Regions from separate parts of the Homo sapiens genome. Here region 1 is linked to region 2. Evidence: promoter capture Hi-C in 16 types of primary human blood cells and fetal thymus (Javierre and others, 2016). All regions are on one chromosome and are shown on one strand. The core of a region is centred on a gene start or on the middle of the fragment in contact, and the rest is flanking DNA. Distances in the headings are between cores, read along the strand shown.

Evidence for each region. Contacts are between HindIII fragments. The CHiCAGO score rates a contact against its expected background, and 5 or more counts as called.
Region 1: a contact is called between a fragment that was not itself captured here and the fragment with the promoter of DAPK1 in region 2, in 2 of 17 cell types (erythroblasts and monocytes). The highest score is 5.9, in erythroblasts.

Annotation. Positions count from the first base shown.
Region 1 is chr9:87,798,999-87,804,930 of GRCh38, reverse strand. It overlaps the pseudogene LOC100420576. Among named protein-coding and RNA genes, the nearest start is that of CTSL, 76 kb to the right of the region's middle. RefSeq lists an enhancer at 4,200-4,700. The HindIII fragment of the contact is 209 bases long and covers 3,031-3,239 here.
Region 2 is chr9:87,495,386-87,501,351 of GRCh38, reverse strand. DAPK1 (death associated protein kinase 1) reads right to left here and starts at 3,485. Exons shown (of 26, transcript NM_004938.4): 1 at 3,245-3,485; 2 at 2,213-2,382. The coding sequence starts at 2,274. RefSeq lists silencers at 2,527-2,636, 2,847-3,036, 3,407-3,756, 3,777-3,836 and an enhancer at 2,379-3,136. The HindIII fragment of the contact is 10,886 bases long and covers 1,261-5,966 here.

The DNA of each region.
Region 1 (5,932 bases), core at 1,886-4,385, 300 kb before region 2:
GACCACCCAGAACATGCTTATTAGCAAAACCTCTTCCCACCTCCCTATTAATAATCATGTAAGACTCCCATAAAGGGGGTTTCTCCAACAACGATCAATGCTGTCTCACCCTCTCACCCTAAGGAGCAGCCGCCCCGAACTCCCTCTCTCTAAGGGTGTACTGTCTCTTCTGCACCTAACTTTCAAAATATTCTTTCTCCTTTGCAATAAAATCACTCTATGCTTCATCTCCTTTGCTGTGTGCCTTTTGTTTAAATTCTTTTAAACCAAGAAGACAAGAACCGAGGTGTCACATCGGCCATCAACACAGCTATCCATATCTGCCTGAGGATGCTGGTGTTGCTTAGCCAAACCCAGTTCTCCTTCTAAAAGAAAGGAGGGACTCCTTCTATGACAGGTAGTGATGGGGGATGCATCTTGATTTTATATCAGCATCCATTTTACTACAGTCGCTGCAAGTCCCATTCTTATCGGATTTTAAAATAAGAGTTTCAGGAGTTGGCATATTTTTATTCTGTTTGATTCTCCTTCTAATCAGATTTTCCATGAGCTGATATTAAAAGTAGTGTGCCTTTACTTCATCAGATAGTGAAGAAAGGTGCCCAGGAATATTTTGAAAAGTGAAAAAAAAAAGGGGGAGTTTGCCCAGAATGAAAAATTCACCACCTGCAAGCTGCATTTGCATAATTAAGAGTTGCTGCTCCATCCATGGGCTCTCACTACACCCTGCCACGTGGGCGGGGCCACATTGCCTCTCAGCGCTCTTATCTGGCCTTCCCAGACCGTGGATGGTCTCCTCATTAGCTTGCAGATGTTTAGTCCTCTTTTCTGATGAGAAAAATGAAAATAAATTGCCACAGTTGGTGCTGGAATAAAGGAAACTAGAAACTAGGAGATCCACCAGGGCTTCAAAGAGCAATGCTGTTACCAAATAACACTGATTCACTCATGCACTGAAAAGATATTCCCAGTGTCTACTGCATGCCAAGAGCTGTTCTGGGCACTGCAGAGACCACGGTGAACAAAATCGGCAGAACCCAGCCAGGAAACAGATCAGAAAAATGCCAGATAGCATAAGTTGAATCAATGGGTGATAAATAACAGCCTACAACTCACCACCTGCTTCTGTAAATAAAGTTTTATTGAGACACGGCCACACGCTCTTGTCTACGGCTGGTGTTCATACATGGCAGAGTTGAGTTGCCACAGAGACCATCTGGCCCTCTACAGAAAGGGTTGCTGCCTCCTGGGGTAGGTGCCATGCAGGGAATTGAAACAGGATGAAGTGAGATGAGAGGATGGTGGAGTCTACTTTCACCTGGCTGATGAGGACCTCTCTGATGTGACACTGAAACCAAGACCTGAAGGGCAAGAAGAAGGAAGCAGCCCGAGGAAGGGCTGGAGGAAGACAGAGGAATAGGGAGTGCAAGGGGCCAGGTAGTGAAGGGTTGGAGGAGCTCAAGCATAAAACAACAAAGAAGGAGGGTAACTGGGCTAGGGCCAGAGGATGGGCCTGGAGGTGCAGGCAGAGAACGATGCGCGAGCGATGTGACCCCGACGACGTGACCCCGACGACGTGACCCGAGAGGTGGCACGGCTTTATAGACCTTACCTGGGGGGTGAGGAGACTGGGTTTGGGCCAAGTGTGTTAAGCTGGCTGGTGCGAGATCTGCCTTAGGTTTAGGAATTCCCCCAGCTGCTCAGACTGGAGCCTCGGGGTCAGGAGGTGGAGCAGAGGGACCTGATAGGAGATGATCTTGGCAACCAGGGGAGATGTGACGGTGCTTGGACTGGGGCTGTCCAGGCTCTATTACTTAGTGAGCCTTGGGCAAGAATACATGTGGGACCCTCCATAGGAGCCAGGCCCAGTGGGAAGGACCTAGGGAGTCCTGTAGCTGGTGCTCACCCGGGTTCCAGACGCTGTCCACAGAGCCTGTCATTTGACTGCCAGGATCTGTGCGGTCCTCTCATGAGCCCATTTCAGAGGAAAGTAACCCAAGGCTCAGAAGTTCGAGGTGGGTCTTCCCAGGCGAGAGGAACACAGCAGATGGGGGCCTCCCCTACAAGCTGCAGTGCTCTGTTGAGTATGAGGAGGGGAGGGGGGACATTGACTGTCATTTAAAAATCAGGAGATCACACCTAAAAATGTGGATATTTGGCTTCTTGTGGGAAGCCTGTTCCACACTGGATGCACCTTCCTCCGTGGTGCTGGGTAGCGGGGAGGCGGCAGCTGCTCCACTTAGAGGGACACAGGCTCTGATTTCATGATGTTCTCCACCTGCACTCCAACTCCAAGAGTCAAGAGTCCCTTGGAACAGGAGAGAGACCTCAGAAGCAGGTCCTGCCCCTGGTGTGAAATTCTGCTCTGTGATGACATTCCCAACCAGGGGAGAAGGACAGTACCCTGCGCAGAAATGCATTGGAGTGTGTGGGCCCTGGTAAGGTCATGCCTAGTCAATGTCAGAGGCAACATTCAGTCTCAGAGCTCTCTAGCAAAGCCATGCAGCCTCTGGGAGGACCTGGCAAGAACAAGAGATGTGTGCAACCCCATGGAGGCCCCCATTGCTTAATGCCCAGGTGGTCCATTGGCTCCAGAGGGGTAGGCAGAGTGTTATCCAGTACCTGGAAATAAGGAGCTTCACCTACAGTTAAACCAGCATCTGCCTGAGGCTGTAAAGAGGCAGGAGGCCGTGCACACAGGCCCCATAGCACCTTTTCCTCCTGCCCGGTGTGGGGAAAACTTGACCTGGGGTGTGCACCTGCAGCCTTGAGTCTGAGGGAGCCCTGGATAGAAGGCACAGCTCAGCAGCTGGACCCAGAGGTGGATGGGAAGATGCCACCAGAGAAGATGCCACTAGCCCTGGGCCAGGCAAGTCAACAGTCACTTGATGCTCTTAGAGCCTGTGCATCAGCACCAGACCACACCCCACAGGCAGGGGACTCCTGTTCAAGTGGCATGAGACCAGCTGGGGTGCTGCACAGAGCACGCCATGGTTGCTGGATGAAGTAGTCCTGGGAAGATGTAAAGCTTCACCCTTCAGAAATATTTGAGAGCAAGGAACATACTGAAACATTGAAAGAAAACATTCCCTACATCTGTATCTCAGCATCAACTATGACTTTCTGTCTCTAATGAATAGACAGAATCAGAGTCCATGTGCATTTTGTTCTCTGGAAAGTTGGTGTCCCCTGAGCTCCCCGGAGCAGAACTGGCTGTGGCAGCAGAGAGAGGAGAAGCTTGTCCTGGGCCCCCAGATCCTGCCCTCGAATTACAAAAGTAATTCCAAAGTGACATTGTGGAATATTTAGAAAATTCAGAGAAGTAGAAAAACCGTCACTAACAAAATTATTGAAGGACATAAAATAGTAGATGAAAAAAATGGAAGGAGATTGCTATCCCTGATAGCAAGATAGGACTGGATGTTTCAATTTCTCTGAGTTATATAAATTTAATAGAGTTCCAGTTAGCATCTGAATGGGACTAAGGAGATTGAGTTTCCTATCTTATAACTTTAATAGAAGAATAAATAAAACATTATAAAGGCTCTATAATCAATATGATTAAATAAGTTATAGGAACAGCCTAGAGAGTATAGAAGTCAATCATAATATCTACAGAAATGTTATAGAAAGCAAAATATGTTATTTCAATTTAATGGGGAAAATGTTTGTTTGATAAGCGATCTTGACACAGCTGGCTATTTGCCTAAAGGTAAACAACGTTGAACTCCCGCTCACTACAGAGCATAAAGATAAATGGATTAGAGCTTTTCACCGTGAAATGATACAACAATCTCTTGAATGGAAATTTGGGAAAACTTGTTTTTAAAATGACTTGGAAGTTTAGAAACCTTTTAAAACCCTAGATATGTTTAAAGAAAATGTACATATTTGACACACTTTTAAAAAAAGACTTTCTGGCAAATATATTCCACAAAGTTACAAAGTGAAATAGACCTGGAAAAAAATATTCTCAATGCATTTCACAGCTAGAGGGTTACTACTACCCATAATATTCAAAAAGCTCTCCAAAATTAGTAAGAAAAGGGCAGACATCCCAGTGGAAAGTGGTAACGCGTTCTCAGAAGGTTCCTACTGCCCAAGCCTGAGTGTCAGCTCTGGGCCCCTCTGCTGTCCAGCAGGGGCCACCTCCTGTTATGGGCCCCCCTTCCAAAACCCTGCACTCCCGACAGCAGGCGCTGGATCCAGACATGCTTTTGGAATTCTCGGGAAACACAAAGGGAGTAGTCCGGCGAGGCCTGGGAGGAATCTGTCACAGAAACCAGGGGCGGTGATCTAGGAACTAACAGTGGTCTGTCTGTGAGGGCCCCTGCACTTCCCCACCAGGTCTGGATTGGGGCTGCATTCCTGAGGCAGGAGGGAGTGTCCCTGGAGATTTTTGAGCTGGGCTGTGGCATGATCTGCTGCTTCTCAGATACCCCCCACCCAACCCCTAAACTCCTGAGCTCAGGCAGGTGGAGCCCACCACGTCAACTGCACTCACCCCTGAGAATCCTGTTTTGGGAATAGGGAGTGGAATTTAGTTGATATAAAAGGATTTGAGAGGGGAGTGTGGAATTAACGGCGCAGTGCAGGGCATGGCATGTGTGGTTTCTAATCAGGAGGTGCGTCAATTATATGAATCTGTAACATAGGCTGATTTATTTAACCAACTTAAAAGGTTAGAAAATCATTTCAAGCTAATTACCAAGAATTGGTCTAATTTGAAACAATATTTCAACAACAGTCCCCATGAATGCTAATTTACTGGTCAAAACCCACTCTGACATTGATGATGATACTCATGCTCTTTTCCTCTTTTTGTTCATAAAGTGGTCATTACATGAGTGAAACAGTCACAGGAGGGAGAGACAGCGAGGGAAGAAAGGAGGGAGGGAGGAAGAAGTGAGGGAGTGAAACATTAGGAGTTGGTGAACATTAGTTGATTGAGTGACTGAGTCCACAATTCCAAAAACATTCTTGGAAGACTCAAAATCTGTTTAATAGATTTCCAGTAGAACTGAAGAGCCTCTATAAAACCTTATATTTGATAAATTGATTCCACTTGATGGTAACTAAAATAATAACTGTCCCAGTACTCAAGCATAAACGTGCTTATTTGTTCACCAAATCACCTGCAAGGCACCTGAATGAAAGATGTCCTCTCCACCGCAGCTCCGCTCAGGGCACCCACAGCTGCAGGTGAGTTAACCTGTCCTGCCCTGCTTCTTCTAGGTCTGCCCTCCCATGACTCACCTGTGTGAGAAAATCATCTCCATGCTGCCTTCCTGGTGGAACCTCAATGGACCCAACCAGCTGATGTCACTGCAGCAGTTTGTGTGCGAAGTGCAGGACCAGCTGAACCCTCTGGTCATCCAGGGGTACCCCAGGTGCATTGCTCAGCAGCTCCACAGTGCAGGCGAGGTGAGCCCCTAGTAGTCCAGGCAGGAGGCTGTGAGGAGCACCAGGAACTCACATCTGTCCCAAATTCCAGTTCTTGGAGGTGGTATGAGCCTTGGGAGGCAGTGTGGAAATGGGCCAACTACTGATAATATTTCCAGACATGTGACAATCACGTACAGCCTCAAGTGACGCTCTGAACTGCAGTTCTCGGCTCACCTTAGAAGCTGTCATTTTGTCTTGTGTGTTGCTTTTGTTTCCAGTGCCTGATAGTTTTGGAGTGCAGTGCCCGCTGCCCTGGGTGACTGGGTCCCTCTTCGCTCCCCCTGGGCACCTGGTACTAACCTGCTATTACTGGCAGCCTTCAGGATGGCTGCTTTCCATGCGGTGTGGAGTTACCAGCTCCAAACAGGCCTCCTGGGTGCAAAAACCATTGAGAAAAGGCAGTAAGGTGTTCTCATGGAGACAATGTTTGGGGGACCTAAGGCAGAGAATGTGTGCGCAGACACAGAGGGTAATCATAATTCAAGGA
Region 2 (5,966 bases), core at 2,236-4,735:
AGACAGGGTTTCACTATGTTAGCCAGGCTGGTCTTGAACTCCTGACCTCGTGATTTGCCTACCTCAGCCTCCCAAAAGTGCTGGGATTACAGGTGTGAGCCACCTCGCCTGGCCAAGTAAAGTCTTAAATCTTAGATACTGGTCTACTAGTAATTCACTGCTTAGAATGACCTTGCATTTGTGCCACATATCTGCCCATTTCCATTTTCCTGCCACCAAACTCCTGCCTCCACTCCCAATCTTCCCTCAGTGACACGTGATGTCATATAAGCAGCATCTTCCTACATGTCCATTTTACATTAGGACTTGTTTTCAGGAAGTGGCTACATCCAAGGCAGACATAAAATCAGGACTTGAAAAATTTTCCAAAAAACAATCATTCACTCATTTTTTGGCAAAAACAATAGCAGTTATACAAGATAGATGAGTCTGTACATTTCATTTTTAAAAACTTCAGACTTCCAGTTTTTCAGAGCATTTCTTTAAAATTCCTAGGTCACACAAATTATTTAATAAACAATTTGTCAATTTGCCTTGCACAGTGGGGAGAACGTTATACACAAAAATGTACACTGAGCAAATCAAAGTGCTAGTGACAAATAAGTAAGCCACCTCCCTCCCCTCATCATCACGCCCACGAAATAAAGATCAAAAACTCCCTTCGCCAACCACAGGGAGGCCTCTTTTTCTATTTCTTTCTCATAACACATAATGGTACCAAAAAATCATAATGAAAATAAGGTCAATATACTTAATCCATAATATAATAATCTCAACTAATTTTAGTCATCTCTCTTTCTAACAACACTTAAACGATCAGGCCACACTATGCAAATCAAATTAAAATTTATTTTTTTGCTTTTTTCTTCCAGTCCCAAAGGAAAACTCCAAATACCACTCATCTTGCTGAAAACCACAGTAAAGTTATTTAATTCCAGTTAAACCAAATATTTCACCCACACACTCTTAAACTTTAATCTTAAACATATCCATGAAATGTGATGTTTGAAGAGCTTTCCTTATTTACTCACCAGATCATCAATATACAGAGAGCTCTTCCTAAGCACAGGCCCCCATCTATGTTTTCAGTCGATACTAAATATTTAGAGAAATACTCTGTTACAGTAACTTTTAAAAAAATTCTACACTATCATTTGAATTTTTAAAAAAATTTAGTTAAGCTTAGTTTCCATAATTCTCATTAGGCAATCCAGGATGTGGGTGTTTTTTAATTTCCTTTTCATGGAGAAAAAGGAAGCTTTGTATCAGGACATCAGATGTATATGGGAAAATACATATTTCAATGCACATATAAGTAAATACATATTTTGTTTGTTTAAAGATCCTTTTGCCTACTCCACTCACAATGTAAATACACCACAGTCAAATTCCATAAATTCAGTTTTAAATGTATGTATGAAAACTAGGTTTTCTACTAAAGTTGACCAGAGCCCAAAACACTCTGTCTAATACACAGTCAAAGGAAACAGCAATCAGCCCTTAGATGCCCCGAAAGAAACTATTCTTTGTTTACCTAGAAACTGAAAGATTTTACACTGAGAATCACAGCTGCTACAGCAATGGAGGTATGCTCTGAATCCAGATAGCCATATTAGACTCTCATTGATTTGTTAAAAATTTAACATTGTAAATGAAACCAAAGCAACCACCAACACCAACCAGGTAATTAAATTCCTGGTTGGAAGAAGTTTCAAAATCCAAGCCCAATGTCAACATCTGGCAAGTCTCCATTTACCACCTACCAATACTTGCTCAAATTACACTGAAAATTTAGATAGAGGGTAAAGTACTAAGATTTTTAAAACCTATTAATTAGTTTGTACCCTCCGTTTAAATCACACATAAAAGCTAACTCCAATTGCAATTATAATCTTAGTGTTTGTCCTGTTGTCACAGAAGGGCAAGGGCTGACAAGAGTTAGCACGGACAATTAAATCTGATTTTGTCCAGGGGACTGGATCAATATACTGTGCATCATAATCTAGCCCTGAACTGCTGCCTCTCCTCCACCCCCAGGCCCTTGGATCAGGCGGTTTACCGCTGGGTTAGTAACTCTTTTCTCTATGATTTGCGCATCTCCAGAAAGGGCGAGGGAGACGCCTGATTCAAACTGCATTTGTTTACCACCCAATGGCCCCATCGTTATGCATTTCCACAATCCAGGAGGGTACGCTTCTGGTACCCCCTTTACCTGCCAAGTTCCTCGCCGGTGTCGTAGTAATCATCCACGTTTTCCTGCCTGAACACGGTCATGATAAACTGTCACGCCTCACCAAAGCCCAGGGCACTTCAGCTCCGCTTCCCAGACCATCACCACCGCTCCTGCGCCTCCGTAGCCCCCTCATGCATCAGTCTCCAGTCCTTTTGAAGAAAAAAAAAAGGCAATAATAATAGTAAAATGGCAACCCCAAAAGGAAGTAGACCTCCCCGGCGCTAAGACCCCGCTCGCTGAAGACCGGGTCTCCGGAGCTGCCCCTCCTCGCGGGGTGGAGAGGAGCACCCTTTGTTAAAGCTGGGCGGCCAGGGACGCCCCCGACCCCTCAGCCCCGCGCGCGCGTGGGGCCGGGCACCACGGCACCCCGAGGTCGGCGTCCCCAAACGCTGGGCGGTCTGTTGGGATCAGAACCGGCTCCGGAAGTGACTGGCCTCCCCGCCTCCCCTTTCTCTGCACACATGCCCACCCAGCTTTCCCACCTCCAGGGACGCCGCGGAAGAATGAAGCCCTCGCCCAGACGGTACGCGCCTCACTGGGAGCAATCTCTCTCCAGCCTGCGGCAACGGTGGCACCCCCGCGCCACCTCTCGGCTCCCGCGCCTCTCCTAACACCGTGGCCACCCTCTCCCCTTCCCCGAGCGAGGCAGTCCCCAGAGCCACATTCCTGGCGACTCCCTCTCCGTTACCCGGCCGACCCGGCGTGCGGCCGCCCGGGGGAGCAAGGGAGGGAAGGGAGCGGCCCACCGAGGCGCAGCAGTTCGCTCCAGATCCTCGCGCCCCGACACAAAGCGCCTGGTCGGGCCGGCGCCACCTGTTCTCACCCGGCCCGCGGGGCTGGGGAAGCCTCCCGGCTGCGATCGCACTTCTCCCCGAAGCCAAGTTTCCCTCCGCCTTGGCCTTCCCAGTTGCTCGAGGCACTGCCCGGACAAACCCCACCGCGCCCTGGCTGGGAAAGCAAAAGCTGGCGCCGGGGGTCGGGGGGACCGGGGAGCCGCGCCTGGCTACTCACCCGGGCGCCTGGGAGCTCCCCCGGTCCCTCCGGAGCGCTGTCGGAGGCCGACCATAGGCGCCAGCGCCGGAGACTAGCCGGGGCGGCGGCGGGAACACAGCTAGGGAGTGAGTGGGGGGCGCAGATCCCTCCCAGGCGCCGGCCCCAGACCCTGCCGCTGCGAGTTGCCGAGTCCCCTCCGCGGAGGGAACAAAGTCCCCGGCGTTGGCTCGGTCCGGCTGTCCTCCTCACACTCCGAAGCAGCCTCTCGGCTCCTTGCCGCCTTTTGGGCGGAGGGCGGCCGGCAGGCGGCCAATGGGGACCCTGCAAGCGGGCTGGCGGCGCGGCCCACCCACCTCCGAGCTGCCCTGCCAGGCCGGCGCTGCGGGTTCTGCGCGGCGCTCGCTGCTCCTCCCAGCTCCGCGCTCCGGGCTCGCTGGCGCGCTCTACCGCGCACACCCCGCACACACCCACTCGCCCCACACCCACGCCGGCCGGGGAGCCAGTGCGTCCGCCCGGAACGCGGGCGCCCCACCTGTGACACATTGCTAAGCTGCCCTCTGACTGGGTTCTAGGGAAACACGGTTCTTCCGTCCCGAGATGTGTACTGGGATCCCAGCTTGTGCCGGGCACGGTGCTTGGTATGGGAAAATCACATAGAACAAAACAGATTTTTTTAAATCCCTGCCTTCCGGAAACCTGCATTCTGGTGGGACAGATAGATAATAAATATGTAAGCTAATTAATAAGGTAATTTTGGAGGATCAGTCCTACGTTTACCACGAAACAGGTTAATGGAATAGAGAATGGCAGGAAGGGAGCGTACCTCATTAGACTGGGTTCCTCTGCCGGACTGGTGTTGGAGCCGAGGCTTGAAGGCAAGAAGGTTTGCAATCTGAAGAAAGGGTTGAGGTCTCCGAGACCCAAAGAAGCAACAGAGACGCAGAGTTTATTTGCGCTATCCCATATGCTATTGGCTATTGTTGAGCTGAAATGTAGCTAGTCCCAAATTAATTGTGCTGTAAGTGTAAAATACACATTAGAGTCCAAGACAGTATGGATATGAGAATGAAAAATATCTCATGAATATTTTTATATTCATTACACTTTCAAATGATAGTATTTTGGATACGTTGGGTTAAACAAAATATATTATTAAAATTAATTTCACCTGTTTACTTTCTTTTTTTTGAGACGGAGTCTCACTCTGTCGCCAGGCTGGAGTGTAGTGGAGCGTGGCAACCTCCACCTCCAGGGTTCAAGTGATTCTCCTGCCTCGGCCTCCCCAGTAGCTAGGACTACAGTCGCGCGTCACCATGCCCAGCTAATTTTTGTATTTTTAGTAGAGACGGGGTTTCACCGTGTCGACCAGGATGGTCTCCATCTCTTGACCTCGTGATCCGCCCGCCTGGGCCTCCCAAAGTGCTGGGATTACAGGCGTGAGCCACCGCGCCCGGCCTCACCTGTTTACTTTTTAAAAGGTGGCCACTAGAAAATATAACAGTACCTATGTTGCTTGCATGAGATTTCTGAGGACTGTGCTGGTCTACACAAAGATCCCATATCCACTGGAGACCTCTATCCACTTTCTCTACTTCCCACCCCTTGCTCCCACCTAATGTTTGGGTGGAGACGAAGAAGGGTTGATTCCCCACATCCCACTGCTGGAGAACCCCAAACGGTGAAAAGCTCCTAAAGGGAAATCTATTTTACTGCCTAGAATGATGAAAACTGACAGATGAAGAGATTTCCGATCCATACCGTTGTTCAAATCCCCAGGCTTTCTAAACTGAGTTGGTTCAAATCTCTGTGGTTCAACAGAAATTTTCAACTGTGAAGATTTTGGCCTCTTGAAAACAAGGCAAAACAAAACAAAAGAATACCCCTCAGGCCTTATGTCAAATCCTAGTCTTTTTTTTTTTTTTGAGACGGGTTTTCGCTCTTGTGGCCCAGACTGGAGTGCAGTTGTGAAATCTTGGCTCACTGCAAACTCCGCCTCCGCCTCCCGGGTTCAAGCGATTCTCCTGCCTCAGGCTACCCAGTAGCTGGGATTACAGGCATGTGACTATGCCCGGCTAATTTTGTATTTTTAGTAGAGACGTGGTTTCACCATGTTGGTCAGGCTGGTCTTGAACTCCTGACCTCAGGTGATCCTCCCGGCTCGGCCTCCCACAGTGCTGGGATTACAGGCGTGAGCCACTGCGCCCAGCCAAATCCTAGTCTTAAATAACATTGCATTAATGACCCACAGGAAGGGCACACAGGAATCAAGGGGAAGTCCCCAAATTGGGAGATGGTATTAGCTTAAGCAGTGGGCTTGATAATACAAAAGGGTCTTGAGAGGTGAGAAATACAGTCAAAAATAACAACAACAACAAAAAAAGAGTGATTCATCTGGGAAAATGCAAATGAATACATCTGTTGGGAGAAAAAATTTAAAACACAGATGTTTGGGATAAACTTGGAAGGTGTTTATGGATGACTGCCATATGGGTAATATTTATTTTCTGCAAAATAAAAAATATATTGTCCGAGGCAATTAAAAGGACTGAATCTATTTGGCAGCTAGAATGTCTTAACTACCCTAATGGACAATGATGTTCACCGGAGATTATCTGGAGTAGTGAAAAAGAGCATGAAATTTGGAGTCACAAAATTAGATCTAGTATTGGTGGAACCATTTAACAGCTTAATAACCTTGGATGAGTCACTAACCCCCGAGCTTTTTGTGTACACCAATTTA